Regions from separate parts of the Homo sapiens genome. Here region 1 is linked to region 2. Evidence: promoter capture Hi-C in 16 types of primary human blood cells and fetal thymus (Javierre and others, 2016). All regions are on one chromosome and are shown on one strand. Each heading gives the region's core, a stretch centred on a gene start or on the middle of the fragment in contact. The rest is flanking DNA. Distances are from core to core; before and after follow the strand shown.

The links. The method cuts DNA at HindIII sites, captures the fragments that hold promoters and counts their contacts. A CHiCAGO score of 5 or more calls a contact.
Region 1: a fragment that was not itself captured here is called in contact with the fragment with the promoter of ERCC4 in region 2 in 2 of 17 cell types (naive CD4 T cells and total CD8 T cells); the score reaches 7.4 in naive CD4 T cells.

The regions. Positions count from the first base shown.
Region 1 is chr16:10,740,510-10,743,209 of GRCh38, forward strand. No RefSeq gene overlaps it. Among named protein-coding and RNA genes, the nearest start is that of NUBP1, 2.0 kb to the right of the region's middle. The HindIII fragment of the contact is 2,751 bases long and covers 1-2,700 here.
Region 2 is chr16:13,918,820-13,921,693 of GRCh38, forward strand. ERCC4 (ERCC excision repair 4, endonuclease catalytic subunit) reads left to right here and starts at 1,335. Exons shown (of 11, transcript NM_005236.3): 1 at 1,335-1,553. The coding sequence starts at 1,347. All of the region lies in intron 1 of LOC105371093 (a long non-coding RNA gene), which reads right to left. It overlaps LOC124903647 (a long non-coding RNA gene), which reads right to left and starts at 1,259. Exons shown (of 2, transcript XR_007065001.1): 1 at 860-1,259; 2 at 646-764. RefSeq lists enhancers at 919-968, 1,179-1,538, 1,579-1,788. The HindIII fragment of the contact is 6,939 bases long and covers 1-2,874 here.

The sequences.
Region 1 (2,700 bases), core at 124-2,623, 3.2 Mb before region 2:
CTTTTTCTTGAATCACATTTGCTAAAGTAAGTCACATGCCTGAGCACAGAGTCAAGGGGTAGGATGGAACCCCCTCCCCGCACGTGGGAGGGCACTGCAAAGTTCAGCAGCCAAGGGCACAGATCCAGACAGGGAGAGAAGTGGGGTCATGTGTGCTACCAGCCTACCACCTAGGGGTGCAGCTGCTGACCTGATGTCTGATTGGATGCAGGGGGTGCTGTGGGCGTCTCTATGGACAACACTGACCCCCATCCCTGTATAGGTACGCCACCCCACTAATCAACAAGAGGAGTCTGTGTCTGTGACACTTTGACCGAGAGAACATGGTGAAAGTGACTGCCACTTCCCAGCTTTGTCATTCCCAGCTGCCATTTAAAGGGACACAGGCTAGACCACTGAAAAATGAGAGAGGGAGGCCACGAGGGGGGAATCAAGGCCAGTGTGAGAGTGAAGCCATTTGAGACCTTCCAGCCAACTCCCAGCTGAATGAAGCCACATTAAGGGAGCCCAGGTGAAACCAGAAGAGTCACAGGAAGCAATAAACCATGGTGGGTTTAAACCACTACATATTGGGGTGACTTGTCACACAGCACTTGATCACTGATGGAGATGGAGAAAACTAAACAAGGCTGATACTCAGATTTACGGCTTGAGTTCTTAGCCCAGGGGTCATGCCCTGTCCAGGTATAACAAATCCAGAGGCAGGAACCGCCTTGAGAAGAAGTTGTAGACGTTTATTTGTTACGCTTGTGGGATGTCCATGCAATAAAATCCAATAGGCACAAGGTAGGATCCACAGATCCGAACTCACGGAGCAAGAGGTGTGGGAGCTGGAGACAGAAGATGGATAGCATCAGGGCTGTCAGTTGCTTGCCCAGGAGGAAGTGGGAAGTGGGACTGGAAGTGGCCCAAGAACAGAGTCTTGGGGAGCACTCACCTTAAGAAGCGGCCCTGGCCAGGCGCGGTGGCTCACACCTGTAATCCTAGCACTTTGGTAGGCTGAGGCGGGTGGATCACCTGAGGTCAGGAGTTCGAGACCAGCCAGGCCTACATGGTAAAACCCCGTCTCTACCAAAAATACAAAAAATTAGCCAGGCGTGGTGGTGGGCACCTGTAGTCCCAGCTACTCAGGAGGCTGACACAGGAGAATTGCTTGAACCCGGGAGGTGGAGGTTGCAGTAAGCCAAGATCACACCACTGCACTCCAGCATGAGCAACAGAGTGAGATTCCATCCCACAAAAATAAAAATAAAAAGGAGAATAACTTGCATCCTGCCCTCTAATATACAGTATAGTGATTAATAGCAAAGGCCCTGTATCAGACTTGGTTAAAAACCCAGTTCTGCTCTTTCTGCCTCTCAGACTGTGGACAAGTAAATCTTTGCAGCCATCTTATCACCTGTAAAACGGAAATGACAACAGTCCCTACCTGATAGGTGACTTCCTCTCTGCTCTCCAGGCCTTTGCTGATGCCCCATCACTCTGGTCCTCTTCTCCCGACCAGACTGTGCTCCAGATGGCAGGGTCCAGGTTAGTCTGGAATCATTGGCATCTAGCCCAGTGCTGGCTGGGACCATGTGTTACTAAGTGCAGGCTCTGCAGCCAGACAGACCAAGTTTATCACCCTGGTTCCCCTGCTACCAGTCATGCGACCTCGGGAAAGTAGTTTACTTTAAGCCTCAGTTTCCTTATCCAAAAATGGAGACAGTAGGACTATGAAAGGACATAAATTAGGTAATTCACATGAAAGCACAAAGATGACAGCTGCCAAACGGTAAGTATTCTACAAAATGCTGGCTATAATTAGTGGTAGTGACAGGCAGCTGATACACTGCTGTTTAATAAATGTTTCCGAGGCCGGGTGCGGTGGCTCATGCCTGTAATCCCAACACTTTGGGAGGCCAAGGCGGGCAGATCACGAGGTCAGGAGATCGAGACCATTCTGGCTAACATGGTGAAACCCTGTCTCTACTAAAAATACAAAAAATTAGCCGGGCGTGGTGGCCTGTAGTCTCAGCTACTCGGGTGGCTGAGGCAGGAGAATGACGTGAACCCAGAAGGCGGAGCTTGCAGTGAGCCGAGATCCCACCACTGCACTCCAGCCTGGGTGACAGAGCGAGAATCCGCCTCAAAAATAAATAAATAAATAAACGTTTCCATATTCTTAGTGTCTGGGGCTAGGTAAAGTTTGTTCACTCATTAATATTCCAGGTGCCAAACCTGTGAGCAATGACACTCCAGTAGCAATGAGCATTTGTGGCATCCACATCTTGGTTTCTGAACTGTTGTCTGCTAAAAAGTAACCAAGGCTCCCTGAAGAAATGACTGCAGCAGGGAGAAGGGATGACTGAAACATCTTGTATCAGAAAGCAAGAAAATGCTCAAAGAAGCTGGATTAGTGCCCAAAGAACATAAGAACTGTCTTGAAGGGGCTTCACTGGCCACATCTGGGGGAAAAAAAATCGACCAGAAAGAATAATAATTGATTATAAAAGACAATTTTAAAAAATCCAGGAATCCATAGTGAGTCTTCGAAAAAAAAGAAAAAAAGAGAGGGTATAAAACTGATATATATTTATCATATATATAATCTATAGTTTTATATATATATATATAAATGCTGCTAAAATCACTGAGTGAAAGGCTGATAGAGAAGAAGATGGTCCCAGAGAGTACCTGTTAATTACAAATGGAAGAAGG
Region 2 (2,874 bases), core at 85-2,584:
GGAAACGGCTAGTGTGAATGTGAATTGGTATAGGCTTTCTAGAGGGCAATGTGGCAATGTGAATGGAATGAAAAGCCTTACAAATTTTTTTCTCTTTATCCCAGTGATTATTCATTTCTAGACGTGTATCTGAAGGCCACGGCTGAATTTACATACAAAGATGTTTAGTGAAATATTATTTATATTACTGGAAGGGAAAAAGCAGAAACAGACTAAATGTCCTCTAATAAGCAATTAGGTAAGTACACCCACATAATGGAAATCTCATCAGCCATATAAAAGGACTTTGTAAAAGAATATGAAACATCATGTTCAGAGGTTTGCCAAATGTTAATGACAAAGCTGGGGATTTAAATCAGGGATATTAATTATCTCGTGTCGGTAAAAGAACTCCGTGTGATGAGAGAATGTGTATATAGATAGAAAAAAAAGGACTAAATAAAATAGATTTCGTGATGTTAACAGTGGTTATTTCCAAGTAATGGAAACAAGTGATTTTCATTTTTGTTTACTTGTATTTTCTATTTTCTAATAACAAAGGTGGGGGGTTTCTATACAAAACAATTCCTCTACTAGTTCAACTATCAGGCATTTCTAGGTATAGAACAAACACTGCGGGAGGTGTCCCTCTAGTGGAAGGAGGGATTTTTAAAAATAGTTTATTGTATTGAAGTCTTTGGGAGGCAAACAGAGGTCTGAAGTCAGTAAATGATTCTGCTTATTCCACAGCCACTGCACTCCAGCCTGGGCAACATATCAACATCCTGTCTCGGGAAAGAAAAAAAAAATTAAAAGAAGGATGGGGAGTAATCGCAAAAGGAAGGGCCAAAAACCACCCTAGGAAACAGGTGCTACTAACTCTTGGCGCATTTGGAATATTGACCAGTAACTTTTTCAACTGTCGATGTCGGGGGATTAAGCTCCTTAGGCTTACTTCCCCTTCCCTTGCTTTTTGGCAGCTTGAGGCTAGGGTGCCAGGGGATGTGGAAACTCAAAAGAGACGTGAATGGAGCCTGATATCTGCAAGCTACACCGACAGGGGGCGCCAGCCCCTACAGGTGACTCCATGAATCTTCGGCTCCACTCGGCTCTTCTTCGGCTGAGTTCGGCCAACGCTTGCCTTCTCAGGCTCGGCTCTCTTCGGCTTTCTGAGAGCGCGCCTGTCGTGGCCTCGGCTCCTCTTCGGCTGCGTTCGGCCCACGATCATCTCAGTCTCAGCTCTCCTCGGCTACGTTCGGCTGGCTGCCGTCCTCTCGGACTCGGCTCTCTTCGGTTGAGTTCGGCCTACTCTCCACTAGGAGTCGGCTTCCTTCGGCTGCGTTCGGCTGCGACCCGGAAGAGCTTCCATGGAGTCAGGGCAGCCGGCTCGACGGATTGCCATGGCGCCGCTGCTGGAGTACGAGCGACAGCTGGTGCTGGAACTGCTCGACACTGACGGGCTAGTAGTGTGCGCCCGCGGGCTCGGCGCGGACCGGCTCCTCTACCACTTTCTCCAGCTGCACTGCCACCCAGCCTGCCTGGTGCTGGTGCTCAACACGCAGCCGGCCGAGGAGGTGCGGCCGCGCTGGCGCGGGAGTGAGGGGACTCCGAGAGTGTTGAGGGCCTCCTGAGCGGATGCGAGGCCTCTGACAGGGATGGAGGGGCTCTGAGGGGGATTCAGGCCCCTGACACTACGCGATGACACAGAGAAGGATGGCAGGGGTCCCCAGGGGGATGCAGGTCCCTCACACTGCGGGAACACAGACGTATGTAAGGGGTCGCTAGGAGGATACCGGTCGCTCACACCGTGCGGGGACACTGATAAGAATTGGAGGGGCCCCGAGAAGGCTGCAGGTCCCTGGCAGGAGTTGAAGAACACTAAGAGGAATGCCAGTCCCTGACACTGTGCGGGGACTCTGAGAGGGAAGGGAGGGGTCCCAAGAAGGATGCAAGTCTTTGACCAGAGTTCAAGAACACTAAGAGAAATGGGAGGGGTCCCCAGGGGATGCGGGTCCCTGACACTGTGCAGGCACAGTGAGAATGATGGAAGGGGTCCCGAGAAGGATGCAATTCCCTGACAACACTAAGAGGGATGGGAGGGGTCCCCAGAAGGATGCAGGTCCCTGACATGGGTGCAAGGGCACTGAAAGGTGAAGGGGCTCTGAGTGGTAGGAGAGGATCGGAGGTCGCTGCAGGGGAGGGGGAGATGTCGGAAGGAGGATCTGGATAGGAATAACGGGAGAGTCCTGAAGTTGGCCATTAAGGGAGTTTCTGGGGGCAGAAGGAAGGTCCCTGAAAGGGAACAGTGATGAGGATGGAAGATCTCTGAGGGTGATGGGGAGACATGAAAGGAGATGCTGAGGCGCTGGAAAAACCCCAATAGGGAAAAGGAGGGACCAGGAAATAGGACATTCACCAAGGCTGTGTTAAGAGGGCCATAGGGTCAGAAAGGGATTGGAGCTTGACGCTGAGGATGTTGGCAAAGGTTAACTACAGTTAAGGACAATGGAGAACACTGAGAAAGATGGAATGGGGCTACACATGGGTCTGAGGGGTGTTGAGAGGGGACACAGCTTGGTCGGACAAGTCTGATGATCCCCTAGATATATCAGGTGGCCGGGAGAAAAATGTCAGCTGAGAAGAGTGACCACAGTCTCTTTGAGGGCAGGGATCCTGTTTGATTCATCTAGGTATCCCCAGTGCTTGGCATAGGGCCTAAGGCAACACACAGGGCCTAGTAAAGATGGTTTTAAACTGGGGATATAAATAAACCAAGCCAAGGGACCCAGTGACATGAAGTCCCTCTAGGATAGATTAGCACAGAACTGATAGTCTAAAACATTGTCTGGGGAAAGGATTCCCTTGTTATCATCTCATAGAATGTGCTTGGCTACA